2 separate regions of the Homo sapiens genome follow, and region 1 is linked to region 2. Evidence: promoter capture Hi-C in 16 types of primary human blood cells and fetal thymus (Javierre and others, 2016). All regions are on one chromosome and are shown on one strand. Each heading gives the region's core, a stretch centred on a gene start or on the middle of the fragment in contact. The rest is flanking DNA. Distances are from core to core; before and after follow the strand shown.

Region 1 (7,693 bases), core at 4,179-6,678, 54 kb before region 2:
CTGTAGATCTGGGATGACTTCTCGGAGATATATTCTATGGCCTTGTTGTATAGTACTTTGATTTCTCTAATTTTGAAGAAAATTTGTGTTCTGGTTAAAGATCTTCCTGTTTAAAAACAAAACAATATCCCCTAACTAATGGGTTCCTTAAAATGAAGTTTCTCAAATATATTTCATGTTTGAAATCCCTCATTGCCCTGTGGAAAGGCAGCTTAAATAAAACACAGCCTTTATAAACCAGTGTCTGGTGCATTGTGCACTTAAACATTTCTGTTTCAAAACGGAGGCAGTTCCTCCATTATCAAAACTGTGAGCCCAAGAGTTGGTGTTCACGTTGAACTTCAAGCCAATGCCAATGCCAAGCAATAAAAACCACATGGACTGGTATCATGAAAATGATGAATTCTAAACCCCAATATGATGCGTTCAATTCCTTTGGAAAGCTGTTTGGGCCTTTTACTTAGGCTAAGATTCAGATTTGATCAAATTACTTTATGATTTTCCTTTTGAAAATACTCCCTCTCGGCCAGGCGTGGTGGCTCACGCCTGTAATCCCAGCACTTTGGAAGGCAGAGGCAGGCGGATCATGAGGTCAGAAGATCGAGACCATCCTGGCTAACACGGTGAAACCCCATCTCTACTAAAAATACAAAAAATTAGCCAGGTGTGGTGGCGGGTGGCTGTAGTCCCAGCTACTCTGGAGGCTGAGGCAGGAGAATGGCGTGAACCCGGGAGGCGGAGCTTGCAGTGAGCAGAGATCGCACCACTGCACTCCAGCCCGGGCGACAGAGCGAGACTTCCTCTCAAAAAAAGAAAATACTCCCTCTTCATTTATATAATGTCACAAACAGGCAAAACTGTACCACGGGTTATTTAGGGATAGACACTTATTTTATTATGGATTCCAAATTAACCTACACTTCATGCATTTCGTTGTTGTTGTTGTTAGTTTTGAGACAGAGTCTCGCTCTGTCACCCGGGCTGCAGTGCAGTGGTGTGATCTTGGCTCACTGCAACCTCCGCCTTCTGGGTTCAAGTGATTCTCCTGCCTCAGCCTCCCAAGTAGCTGGGATTACAGGCACGCACCACCGCGCCCGGCCCACTTGCATTTCTATGCCACACTCATAAGCGGATCATGAGGTCAGAAGATCGAGACCATCCTGGCTAACACGGTGAAACCCCATCTCTACTAAAAATACAAAAAATTAGCCAGGTGTGGTGGCGGGTGGCTGTAATCCCAGCTACTCAGGAAGCTGAGGCAGGAGAATCATTTGAACCGGAGAGGCGGAGGTTGCATCACTGCACTCCAGCCTGGGCGACAGAGCGAGACTCTGTCTCAAAAAAAAAAAAAAAAAAAAAAAAGATACGGACACTGAGGCTAAATAAAGGTACAGAGACTTGCTCAAGGTCACCTTGATAAAAAGTGACCAGGCCAAGATTTAGACCTGGGCTCTGTAGCCCTGAGTGTGCACTGAACCACCCCCCTATAGTCCCACTGGGTGCCCTTTGCTCTTTCCCCTGGATGCCTCAGGCCCAGTCAGAGGGTCTATGGAGGGAGTTATGTCCCCAAATTCTTACGCGGAAGCCCTACTGGCAATATCAGTGCTGTAAGAGTGGACGGAGCTGTAACAGGGGATGAGGTTAGATGAGGTCGCGAGGGTGGAGCCCGAATCCGATAGGCCTGGTGGCCTCATGAGCAGAGGACAAGAGGACTCTCCCTCCTCCTGCACACACCAAGAAAAGGCCACATGAGGACGCAAGGAGAAGAGGATGGTCTGCAAGCCAGGGAGAGGCCCGCCCCAGAACCCACCACGATGGCACCCTGATCTCAGACGCCCAGCCTCCAGAGCAGTGGGAAGACAAATCTCTGTTCTTTAACCCTCTGTCTGTGGGGCTTTGTTATGGCCGCCCAGCTGAGGAAAACAGCCACAGGGTCTGCAAAGCTATGGGGTGTGACCACAGGGCAGTGCGTTTGTGGCATCCAGACCCACACTTGTGCCGTGGTGAAGTTCAATGAACAGAAGCTTGTGACAGACTCCTTTGACGACACTGTGGCTTGCTGGGAATGGAGTTCCGGAGCCAGGATCCGGCACTTTCGCGGGCACACGCGGGCAGTGTTTAGCGTGGACTACAATGATACCTTGGTGAGCGGCTCTGCGGCCTTCACTGTGAAAGGATGGACTTTATCTACTGGGGCATGCCTGAGCACACTCACTGGGCACACGCCATGGGTCACCAAGGTAGTTCTGCAGAAGTGCAAAGTCAAGTCTCTCTTGCACACAGTCCTGAAGGATACCTCCTCTTAAGTGCAGACAAATATGAGATTAAGATTTGGCCAACTGGGACAGAAATCAACTGCAAGTGCTTAAAGACATCCTCTTGTCTCTGAGGTTAGAAGTATCCGCCTGCAGCCAAGACTTCGTGTTGATGGCAAATACACTGTTTGTAGTTCAGCCCTCCGTCTCTAGCAGCGGGACTTTGCCAACAGTTATGATATTCTCAGGGTCATCAAGACTCCTGAGATAGCAAACTTGGCCTTGCTTGGCTTTGGAAATACTGTTGCCCTACTGTTTGGCAGCTGCCACCTGTACATCATGGACTTGCAGACCCAGAGCCTCATTAATCGCTGGCCTCTTCCAGAGTACAAGAAATCAAAGAGAGGCTCAAGCTTCCTGGCAGGCGAAGCATCCTGGCTGAATGGAGCAGATGGGCACAATGACACGGGCTTGGCCTTTGCCACCAGTATTCCTGACCACAGTATTCACCTGGTGTGGAAGGAACACAGCTGACACCATGAGCCCCCACCACCGACTGACTATGGGTGCTAGGGCGGGGGTTTTGGGGTGCAACCTCTATGCCAGCTGACTGCATGAACCAAAGTTCTCACCTATGGTATCATCACGCAGTGCACGTCATTTATCTGTTTGCCAGGGGGCCAGGGCTTGGGGTGGGGGAGGGCTTGTTTTACTGACACACATGTAGCATGCTAACGGGGTACATCATGGACTTCATTTGTACTCAGTTAGGTTGGTGAGTGTAAAAGGATCCATTCTGGTTCATCTTTCTTGAGTGGAATATTGGTTTTATATAAAGAAAGTTAAATGATTTGTTAATCTGCTGATTGGTTGCGTATGAAATCACATTGTCTGTTATTAAAGCTTTTCACCATAAAAAAAAAAAAATCTCTGTTCTTTGACTGTCTGTGTGGAACTCTGCCATAGCAGCCCAGCTGAGGAAAACAGTCCCAGGGTCAGGGAACAGCAGGACTTCTTCTTGGGGCAACCTTTTAAATGACGTCCTGTGCATTTTGTACAAATTCTGTGCTACCTCATCGAGCCTGAGCAGCTGTATCAGGATGCTGTAAGAGGGCCCTATGGCCTGTGCGAGGTGCACTTTGGCCTTCTGCCCCTGCACGGGGCTGAATAAATTATGCTGAATGTTCCCTCCTTCCTCAATCCTTGTTTCTGGGCCCCTCTGGTGCCTACGCTCCTGCTTCTCCTCTAACTCCTCGGCCACCCCCTCCCAGTCTCCTTACTTCTGCTCAGACCTGCATGTTGGGGTTCCTGGGGCTCCAGCCTCACTGTCTGTCCACACTCTCAGCCCCAGGGAACTCCTGCGTCCCACGGCTTTAAACGCCTCCGTGGCGATCCCACCTCAGCTTTCTCTCCCGCCCTGGCCTCTTCCCTCAGTTCCAGGCTCATGAACCACGAAGCCTCCACTTTCCTGCCCAAACCCGAACTCTTGGCTTCTGCCCTCCTTGACCTGCTCAGCTGTGTCTCTGGTCCTCATATTCTCAGGGAATGCCCCAGCAGCTATGCCATCCTCCACCCCTCCAAGAGCCAAATCTCCATCAGGTCTAAAATCCTGCCACCCCCCTCCCCTTCTCCTCCAGCCCCCTGCTCACAGGTGTGCATGCCTCCCTCCTACACGGCGAGGACCCCCTGCCAGTCCCCCAGCTGCTGCCCCCGCTTCCTGATGGTCTGTCCTCCAGACAGGGGCAGTGGCTGCCTTGGTCATGCCAAGCAGGAGGCTGCTGTGTGCTGGGAGCTGTCAGGCTCGTCCTGAACAGGGAAGGGCCCATCCACCTCCCAAACCCAGTTTATGCAGTCCTTCGCAATGTCAGGCTCAGGGCCTGGCACCAGCCAAGCTCCCCACCCTTCCCACTGTTAAAATGGATAGGAGCAGGGCTAGGCCCAGCCTGTTGACTCTGGGCTTCCACCAGGAGAAGTGGTTCTGGCAGTAGAAACTATCGGGGCCTGGGAGAGGCGGGGGAAGAGAGAAAGGTGGCATGTTTCTTGCTTGCTCCCTCTACCAGCCTTGTCCAAATCCCCGCAGCCACCCTAATCCAGCCTGTCTAATGGAGCCCAAGCCGGCTCAGGCCCTCGGACGAGGAGCCTGCTAATCCCTGTGGCTAGGAGCTCACCACCTGTCTCCAGGACGCCCTTTGCTCTCTTGGCATCAGAGAGCCAAATCCTGGGCCTCGGATGGGGGGATGATAAAAGCATCTTTTGGCCAAGCCCCCTCACCTTGGCCTCCACGATGAGATGGGGAGTTAGGTGCAGAGAGCGTTGGCACAGTGAGCACCGCAGCTCGAGTGGCTGCCTCAGACCCAGAGCCCGAGGAGACTTTATACGGAGCCAGAACGACCCCGCGGGGTTCCATCCTCCCAAGCAATAGGCGGGAGTGGGAGCTGCGAGGAAAGCCGGCCCCTCCCCTCCCTCCATCCAAGGCAGTGTGGGCTGTTTGTTTCATGCCATTCTGGGTGTGAATCCTGATGCCCACACATGCCAGCTGCATGCACTTGGGCAACTCAACTCACTCCTCGAGGGCTGTTTCTCGACTGCAGGGTGTTGTAAGTTCGCTAATACTAAAGGCTTCTCCCTCCTGGCCCCTTCCTGCCCCTCGCTCTTCCTCCTCTTCCTTAGGCCCTCCCAGCTCAGGCAGCCCCTGCCCCCTGCAGGGTTCTGCAAGGAGAAAGCTGGGGAATACCTTAGGCAACTGCAGTCAGGAGCACTGGTGGCCAGGACAGAGACAGAGAGACAGAAAAGGGGTCAGGGACAGAGAGAGATAACCGCAGGGAGAGACAGGAAGGGACAGAGACAGAAAAGATTTCCAAGAAGAGGACAGAGGCAGAAAGCCAGGGACAGAGACTGAGAAACAGAGACCTAGAGGCAGAAGAAGACTGAGATAGAGATGGACAGAGATTGTGTCAGACACAGCCCCAGAGACAGCCAGACAGTCTGAGTCAGACGCAAACCAAAGACAAGAAAACAGGAAAACAGACCCAGAGATTGGGAGAGGGAGGGGAAGGAGATGCGGGGAGAGCCAGCACCGCCACCCCCCACACTCAGGAGGGGTCTCCACCCTCGGAGCGGTCTCTCATCCCTCCCTAGAATCCTTAAATCCTCTCTCGCTCAGGGCCTCGGCCGCATCTGTCACAGACTTGTCCTGAACCGACAGCGGCTGGCGCAGGTGACTGGCTTGGGGCGGGAGCCTGGGTGTGCGCTGGGGATGGACCCCGAGGAAGAGGGGCCAAGCTGTCGGGAAGCGGCAGGGCTGGAGGGGTGGAGGCAGTGGTCGGGCGGGACCCCGGGCGACAGGGTTCGGCGCTTGTAAGAGCGAGACGGAGGCCCGGGCAGGCCGGCTGAGCTAACTCCCCAGAGCCGAAGTGGAAGGCGCGCCCCGAGCGCCTTCTCCCCAGGACCCCGGTGTCCCTCCCCGCGCCCCGAGCCCGCGCTCTCCTTCCCCCGCCCTCAGAGCGCTCCCCGCCCCTCTGTCTCCCCGCAGCCCGCTAGACGAGCCGATGGCGCGGCCCCGGAGAGCCCGGGAGCCGCTGCTCGTGGCGCTGCTGCCGCTGGCGTGGCTGGCGCAGGCGGGCCTGGCGCGCGCGGCGGGCTCTGTGCGCCTGGCGGGCGGCCTGACGCTGGGCGGCCTGTTCCCGGTGCACGCGCGGGGCGCGGCGGGCCGGGCGTGCGGGCAGCTGAAGAAGGAGCAGGGCGTGCACCGGCTGGAGGCCATGCTGTACGCGCTGGACCGCGTCAACGCCGACCCCGAGCTGCTGCCCGGCGTGCGCCTGGGCGCGCGGCTGCTGGACACCTGCTCGCGGGACACCTACGCGCTGGAGCAGGCGCTGAGCTTCGTGCAGGCGCTGATCCGCGGCCGCGGCGACGGCGACGAGGTGGGCGTGCGCTGCCCGGGAGGCGTCCCTCCGCTGCGCCCCGCGCCCCCCGAGCGCGTCGTGGCCGTCGTGGGCGCCTCGGCCAGCTCCGTCTCCATCATGGTCGCCAACGTGCTGCGCCTGTTTGCGGTGAGGGCCGCGGGGCCGGGCTCGGTGTCCAGCGTCCCTCTCCCGTCCTCGCCCTGGGGTGGCCCAAGTCTCCTTCCTTTACTTCTTCTGAAAGAGTCTCCGTTTTAATCACTCGAATTCACACAGCGTCAAAGAAGCCCTGTCAGTTGAGCCCGACGCAGGCCTGAATCGGCTCCACCCAAACACTCCAGCCGCCCATGTCTACCCCGCCCCGCGAGGGCGCCCCTTCCCGGGCGGGTGCCACCTACGCCTCTGGCCGGTTGGCTGGGGAGGGCGGCCTGACTTCAGCCCCCATTTGCCAGCCTGCTCGGGTGCCCTTGTTCTGGGCACACCCCTGCAACCATACAAGGTGCTCCTGCCCCCTGGGCCTGCGGAGCGCTCGAGTGATATTGCAACTTTGAGTTTTGTTTGGAACCCGGGCCCTTCTTCCAGAGCAGCAACTGGGGCGTGTCCCTGGGCTGCTATGGGGGATGGATAGGCCTGAAAGGTCTGGTCTTTCTCTTTTTTGATCATTTAAATTTATTTTCAAAATGCCTTGAACTCTCCCTCAAGGGGCATCTGAGAGCAGGGCGGGGCGTTCCCTTCTGAGCTCTGGTCTCCTGCACCCTGCCCTGCGCAGGTGCCCGGGCTGGCCCTGCTCTGTCCTCAAATGTAGGGAACTGTCCCGTGAGGGGCAGCGTGTTCCTTGCAGTCCTAGGGGCCAGCAGAATCGGGATTAGGAGGGCTTTGGCATACAAGTTTGGGGGTTTTCGATTTGGTCATTCACTGGGGGTTGTGGGACAGTTTTTCTGGGGTTCTGTGGCGGGAGGGGCCTGTGTGCATCCGGCTCTCTGTGAAGGAGGAAGGCCTGGCTTCCATCTACCTAGGAGAGGAACTTCTGTTTCCTGAGAGCTTCTCCGACTCCCGGGCGCAGCGTCTGTGTTTGTTCCAGGCGTGCGGGGCCGCTCCCTATCGTCTGCGCACATGAAAGCCCCCATCCCTGTTTCCTCGGATTGGCAGTGTTGATGTGACATCTCCACGCTGGCACCAGACAGGCTGTGCGGCCGCCCAGGGGTTTTTCACCCACCTGTATGTGTCCCCGGCCCTGCCTAGAGCTCTAGTTTCTGTCTCTGTCCTCTAGGTCGAATGCAGAGATTCCAGACCCCAAGGCCTTCAGGGGCCCAGTTGGGGACTCAGGTGGGCAGGACTCTGTGAGCCCAGGGCCCGCTGCTGCCAGCTCAGCCCAGATTGAGGTTGTGCTGCCCGGCTAGAAATGCAAACATTAATAAAAACTGTGCAAAACACAGCCACAGGCAAGATGCTGCAATTCCTGGTCTAAAAGAACTACATTCATTTCCCAGCCACATGACCGTGCTGGCAGGCATTTTAAATTAACTTCCCTCAGGA
Region 2 (7,339 bases), core at 2,287-4,786:
TCCAAGAGAAAGGACTCTCAGGTTATTGTAGATCCCACTTCCACAGTCAACATCTAGCTGTGTCTTTGCCTTTGCATTTGGGGGAACACCTCCATATCTTTCCAGTCAGTGCCTGCTTCTGCCTGAGGCAGTCTGAATTAGGTTTCCGTTACCTGCACCCAGAGACTTGGCCCATGACAGGCAGTCAAGAAACACTTGGATGGAAGCCATGAACCAATTTGTCAGGGCCCATTTATCGTTCACTTTGTATTTGTAGCCCAGATCATAATTCCTGGCACATTTTACAGCCCTAACATATGTCTGCTGAATGGCAACCAAATCAAGGCAGCCTATAAACACAAGATAAATTGTATGACACCGACAGTGACTTTGAGGAAAAGGTTAAGGAAGGAAAATATCACAGTAGACTGGCACTGTGGGTGCGGACAGGTTTTGCAGAAAAAGTGGTGCATGAGAAGGGTCCTAAGTGACAAGTCAGAAGCCAAGAGGAGGAGGGGAACAGCCGGTGAGCTGTGCTATGTTGAACATGGCGCTCCCACCTAGCTGGTCATCCTTTCCAGTGATTCCTGCCACACATCCCAGTCCTTGGGGAGGTTTAAATGTGAAGGAATTAGAACAATTTAACCAAATGTATCAGAATGTATATGCCCAAATGAATGCTGTCTCCTTCAAAGCACAGTCCATATTCTTTTTTATTTTTTATTTTTGAGATGGAGTCTCGCTCTGTCACTCAGGCTGGAGTGCACTGGCACAATCTTGGCTCACTGCAAGCTCCGCCTCCTGGGTTCACGCCATTCTCCTGCCTCAGCCTCCCGAGTAGCTGGGACTACAGGCGCCCACCACCACGCCCAGCTAATTTTTTTTGTAATTTTAGTAGAGACGGGGTTTCACTGTGTTAGCCAGGATGGTCTCGATCTCCTGACCTCGTGATCCGCTGGCCTTGGCCTCCCAAAGTGCTGGGATTACAGGCGTGAGCCACCGCGTCTGGCCCATATTCTTATTCTAAAGATGCTAGGACTGCTCAAAGCGTTTTAGGAATTTATAGGACTTTTTGGCAGAATAGTCTTTTGAATAATTTCATTGGTAAAAAAACCAAATGTCATAAAAGAAAAAGAGTCTAGTAAATCACACCTCCCCAGAAAAGTGTTCCTACAATGCCCTTCTTTGAGCTCTGTGTGAGATACTGCCCTGATATAGTTTGGATGTATGTCCCTTCCAACTCTCCTGTTGAAATGTGACCTCCAATGTTGGAGGGGGGGCCTGGTGGGAGGTGTTGGATCATGGGGGTAGATCCCTCGTGAATGGCTTAGTGCCATCCTCTTGGTGATGAGTGAATTCTCGCTCAGTTGGTTCACGTGAGATCCAGTTGTTTAAGAGTCTAGGACCTCCCACTTCTCTCTCTTGCTCCCTTTCTCACCGTGTGATACACCTGCTCCCCCTTCACCTTCTGCCATGATTGGAAGCTTTTAAAGTCCTCATCAGAAGTGGATGCTGACACCATGCTTCCTGTACAGCCTACAGAACCGTGGGCCAATTAAACTTCTTATCAATTCCCCAGCCTCAGATATTTATTTAGAGCAATGTAAAAAGGGACTAATACATGCTTTTACCACTTCAGATCCCTAATCTTACTTGCTAGTGAAAAGAGTACAGGTTTTGATTTCACAGGGACCTGGGTTCCAGTCCCAGCTGTGACATTTATGTGACCTTTAGCAAGTTATACAGCTGCAACACCCACCAGGATGAGCCGGATATGGGGCGGGGTTGGAGGGTGTTGGTTGGGGAGAGGCAACTGAGGTCAGTGTCTGGGTGGGACTGGATTGGGAATAAAGCTCCCGGTCTGAGGAAGCAAACATGCCACACTCTTCAAATCCAGAAAGCAATTTAGGGGGAAGAAACCCCCACTCACCTGGACCATGGTTGGCAGGTGGCTGACAGCCATTCTTTCTTCTCCGATGAGCCCTCTTAGGGACAGGCAAAGTGCTATGGAGGCAGGTGTGGAGCTTCACACCTGCAGGACTCCTCAGGCTAGAAGGGTCCACACACCTGCTATTAGGAGAGAACTGGGTCAAAAGCTCTCATACAGCAGTCCAGAGCGAGGCAGTGAGCATTCACATCCTGGGAGGCCTCCAGTACCCCAAGCAGTGAGTGTTTTGGTTCCTGTTTGCTCCCCATTCTCTCTCCTCCTTCTGAGGGTACTATACATTGACTTTTCCCTGCAGAAAGCCTGCTCCAGGTCCAGTTCTCATGCCTTCCACCCACCCTCTGGTCTTTCCCTTCAGCCTCACTGAGCGATCTCAAGAGAATTCTTTTTTTGTTTGTTTGTTTGAGACAGAGTCTCGCTCTGTCACCTAGGCTGGAGTGCAGTGGCACGATCTTGGCTCACTGCAACCTCCGCCTTCCGGGTTCAAGCGATTCTCCCGCCCCAGTCTCCGGAGTAGCTGGGATTACACGCACCCGCCACCACGCCCGGCTAATTTTTTATATTTTTAGTAGAGACCGGGATTTCACCATGTTGGTCGGACTGGTCTCGAACTCCGGACCTCAGGTGATCGGCTCGCCTCGGCCTCCCAAAGTACTGGGATTACAGGCGTGAGCCGCCGCACTCGGCCGAGAATTATCTCTTTAACAAGTTATTCAGCTCCAGAACCCACCAGGATGTACCCGAAAAGGTGGGAGCGCTGGGGAGAGGCAACGGAGGGCAGTGTCTGGGTTCGACTGGATTGGAAGACCGCTCCGCTCTCCCTCTGCGGCTTTGGAACAGCTGCCTTATCTGGCAGTGACAGGAGAAGAGGAAAAGGAGGGTGGTCTTCTTCCTCCTCAGAAAGGAGGCTAAGAAGGCTCTTCACTGTCGAAGCCTCTCAGGCAAACCCTTCTCTGGCCTCAGTGTTCTCACTCTCTGGGGCCCAGTCTGGGTGGCCTGGAGTCACGGGTGGGCAGAAGCGGCGTTTGTGTGAGCTGGGCGGGAGGGGAGAGGGAAGGGTTAGGAACCCTAATCACACACAGCCCCGTCCCGCCCCTGCCGCTTCGCCAGGTCCCTCGGGGGCTGTGGCAGGGGCTGCGCAGCGGCTGCCTCCGGCCTTGGCGAGTTCCTGGCGCAGGACTCGGAACCACGCCAGGCGTGTATCTATCACCTGAGAGGAAACCCTGGGCTTCTCGGAGTCCGCTCCAAGACACATGCCAGAGGCCCTGGCTCCATCTCCTCCACAGGCACTCACAGACTCGACCCTCAGCCCAGGATGACCACCCCTGGCCGTCCTCCCTCTCTGGGATCAAATCTCAGACATACATTCCGGGAAGTTTGGGGCATTCGATCAGCGTCCTCCAGAATGGACCACAACCCGCACCTCCTCGGCTTTGCCTCCGCCCTTCTCCCCAGACGACCTCACGACCGCTCCCGCTCTCCCTCTGCGGCTTTGACCACCGTGCCTGGTCAGCCCCGTGTCGCTCTTCGAGGAGCCTCTGCCGGCGGCGAGAGATCGCAAGCGCCACATCGCAGTCAGAACACAATGAGCTGGAGTCTGCAGCCGGGAGCCGAACTGCGCTTGCGCGTTGCCCTGGGAACCCTTGGGCCGAATTCCCACAAGTCTCAGGGCTGCTGCAGTTCCGCCGGCCAGACTCCACTTCCCAGAGGGACAATCGGCGGAGACAGTGCTGCCTTGCGCCTGCGGGAACAGGGCCCGGCCCCGGCGCTTTAGGCGCGGAAACTACCTTTCCCAGAGACCCCTCCACGCCGACCTCAGCGCGCTCATTGCAACTTACAGAATCGGTTCCGTTCCGTTCGCTTTAGAACCAGGTCTCTGCCTTGCACTAAGGCGCAGGAAGATGCAGATCAGCGAAAAGCTGAAGATGGGGCAAGGGAGGTTAGTCCAGGGGAGCGACGCCCGATCGCTGACGAGAGAGGATCGGGAGGGTCCGGAAGACGGAGTGGGAGGCGACAGGGCGCGTTCCTGACTGGGACCGCGCCGAAAAGGCCTGGAAGGCAACAGAATTGCCCCTTGGCCTGGCAAGCGCCCGACACTTCCAGCCTGGCACTGCGGGCGGGCCAGCGTGTGCTGGGGTGGCGACGCCACAGCCACTAACGCGTGTGCGGTGCGGGAGGACAAGGATGTCGGGCAGGGATGTCCTGCTTGGCACCTCAGGACAGAGCCCATGGTGGCTGGCGGCCCCTGGAATGTTCGGGACGCAGAACACTTCGTGCTTGGGAACTTCTCAGAGGTGGGGACGAGGGAGAGGAAGGCGCCTGGATGCCAGGAAGTCTCCATCTTGGACAGCTGGGTGGTATTTAAGAAGGTGGTATTTATTTTTGTCGACCATATTTTGCAGAGACTGGCAAGGATGAGATGATGCCTAAGAATATCCAACTGGAGATACTTAGTTGCTTTTGAATAGGTAATTTGCATGGAGCTCAGGAAGGAAAGATGAGAGGGTTTTAACTTTGTTGGTCGTTAAAAAAAATCAAGAATGTGACCTGTTTGTCACATACGGAATTGTTGGCCACGTTTTAGGAAGCAGTGTCAGTGACTACAGCATTCTGTTTGGAGTTTTATTGAAGATTTCATTCCATAGACACTTTGGAGCACTTATGTGTCAAGTGCTTGACAAGGCCAGGGTCAGCCGCTGTGCAGCCCCTGTAGCAGTTCCCAGGGACCCGGCAAAGCACCAGAGGGGGAGGATGTTGTGTGAGTATCGCTGGTAACCCTTCTCTCTCGCCTCCCTCGTGACTCCAGGTCACTCAAACTGGGCTCCAGAGAGTAAGAACCCCGAGTCCAGGGGCTGGAGAAATAGCTGTGAAAACCCTGCACTCATGGAGTTTTAATTGTACTAGAGGAGGGGTCAGACAAGTAGAAAGTATTTATCTGGTAGTGATAACACTACTGTTAGGGGTTAGGGTGTGATGGGGCGGGGAATTATTTCAAGCAGCAGTTTTGGAAGTTCTCTTTGAGGAGGTAACACCTGAGCAGAGATTTGAATACAGTGAGGGAAGAAACGATGTGACTGTATGGGTAAAGTGCCTTCTAAAGGGAGGGAACAGAAATGCTGACCAGAGAGAAGTGTGCTTGGTGAACTCCAGGCTTGGCAAGGTCAGTATGACTGGCGAGGGCCTACTGAACAAGGAAGACTGCGAGATGCTGTTGCAGGAGTAACTACAGGCCTTGAAGGAAGGAAATTTGGATTTATTTCTGTGCCTGGAAATGATTAGATTTGAAAGAGTGACATGGCTGGGCACGTTTTGATAGACGCACTGGTCAGCTTCAAAGAAGGCAGACAGTGGTGGGGCTAGAGGGGATACAGGAAGACCAATGAGGAGGCAATGACAGCAGTCCACAATTACAAGTAGCCTCCCACAATTATATAACCTTTCCACAAGGCATTTGCTTTGAGAGCCTAATGATTCTAAGATATTGAAGGGTTTTGGGTGCTATGCTCAGGAGTTTGGATATTATTGTTTTCAGGAATTTAAGAATGATAATATGTATTGAGCACTAACTACATGTTGGGAGTTTTTTTGTTTGAGACACAGTTTCACTTTTGTTGCCCGGGCTGGGGTGCAATGGCATGACCTCGGCTTACCGCAAGCTCCGCCTCCCGGGTTCAAGCAATTCTCCTGCCTCAGCCTCCCCTGTAGCTGGGACTACATGCATGCGCCATCACGCCTGGATAATTTTGTACTTTTAGTAGAGATGGGGTTTCCCCAGGTTGGTCAGGCTGAACTCCTGACTTCAGGTGATCCGCCCGCATCGGCCCCCTAAAGTGCTGGGATTACAGGCATGAGCCACTGCGCCTGGCCATGTTGGGCACTTTTACAAGCACTTTACATTATCTAATGCAACCAAAAACTGAGGTTTGCCCTATTAATAAATGAGAAAACTGAGGCACTCATCTGTTAAGTGCCTTGCTCAGGTCCCATGTCCTTGGAACCAGGAGTCCTTCTCCTGTTGATGTTGGAAGGTTCAAAAGTGCTCTTATTACTTGTCACCCAGATGGCAAAGAACTGACATACAAAGGCCCAAGTCTTCCAGAACTGAAAACAGTAATAAAACCTTCATTTATCTGACCCATTTGTCCTGGTGATGCTGTAGTCTGTTAGGAGTACCTAACAGGTGCCCTTCCACAGCCAACTAAAAAACAAAACTATTCAAGCTGAAGAGAAGCAGTGAAACCTCTGATATGAAGCCTGACACACCCTTTGACTTTAGCCAGGACTCACACACTATATTGTTCTGAGTATTCACTGAGGAAGCCCCCGCTTCTGTCAAGGATTCTCATCAGGAACCAGTCTCCTCGGAGAAAGGAGGTTAAAACGTGGTCTGGAGAACCCCTTTCCCTTCTGCTCTATTAACTATGGATATGCAAATGAACACTTACATTTGACCAAGACCTCCATCACCAGTCTGCTTACGCTTCCCCAGGACAGTGGCTACGTGCCAGTAATTCCTGGTGTCCATTTGCTGAGCCCTGTTGGGACCCTTGAAGCGTGATATAATAAGGTCTTCCTTTAGCCTCATTTCTTCCTGCTTCTTGACTTCTACTCTATGCTTAAATCATACATCTCTTAGAATTTCCTGAATATACACTATGCTCTCTTAGCCTCTCTTGCCATTACTCCTATTCTTCCCTGCACCTTCTCATTTCCTCCCGTCTTCTGTTCACCCAACTAGTTCACTCTTATGGCACTGTGTGCTAGGAGCTACTTGACAGCAGAGAGCAGGCGTCATTTACCCTGGAATTCATAGAAGCTGACTTATGCTAGGAGCTCAATAAATGTTAGTTGCTTGAATGAACTACACTATGAGTAGGAACAAGGTCTTACTCATCCTTGTCACAATAACATGCAGCACAGGCCAATTACTTATGAGTCTCTTGACCACAGACCATCAGATCATGCCAATGTGTATATAGGCAGGGAAATAACCTACCTCAATTAAGTTATAAGCATTCATAAATTTTTCAGAGACCCTTCTCCTCCAGATCTGTTGTGATATTTTTCAGGAGCCAGAGGCAGTTGGAAGCTATGCAGTATCTAGGAGAGGGGTACTGGCACCATATTCTGCAGCTCCACTTTTATTCGTTAAAGAACCCTGACTGGTAACCTCTTTAAATGCCCAGAGGCCCATTTCACAGAGCTCAAGTGGAGGGAATGGCCCTATTTGAGTCTTTTGAATGATGATCCAGCCATAGAGGAAATACCCTGGTCACCCAATTCTCTATAGTTCCAGAGGGCGCTGTGTTTCTTGCTACCTTCAGAGTTACCCTAGTGCATCCTAACTCCTGGTTTATTTCAGACTTCCCTACCTTGAGCTCCTTCTGAGCTCTAAATCACTAGCAACTACTGAGT

The links. Contacts are between HindIII fragments. The CHiCAGO score rates a contact against its expected background, and 5 or more counts as called.
Region 1: the fragment with the promoter of GRM6 here is called in contact with the fragment with the promoter of ZNF454 in region 2 in 17 of 17 cell types (M0 macrophages, naive CD8 T cells, neutrophils and 14 more); the score reaches 13.5 in M0 macrophages.

Annotation. Positions count from the first base shown.
Region 1 is chr5:178,993,055-179,000,747 of GRCh38, reverse strand. It overlaps GRM6 (glutamate metabotropic receptor 6), which reads left to right and starts at 5,428. Exons shown (of 11, transcript NM_000843.4): 1 at 5,428-5,472; 2 at 5,788-6,307. The coding sequence starts at 5,804. It also overlaps the pseudogene LOC100288803. The HindIII fragment of the contact is 9,329 bases long and covers 3,161-7,693 here.
Region 2 is chr5:178,937,395-178,944,733 of GRCh38, reverse strand. It overlaps ZNF454 (zinc finger protein 454), which reads right to left and starts at 3,536. Exons shown (of 5, transcript NM_001178089.3): 1 at 3,290-3,536; 2 at 1,910-2,049. The coding sequence starts at 1,942. It overlaps ZNF454-DT (ZNF454 divergent transcript), which reads left to right and starts at 3,719. Exons shown (of 1, transcript NR_186409.1): 1 at 3,719-6,058. The HindIII fragment of the contact is 10,957 bases long and covers 1,466-7,339 here.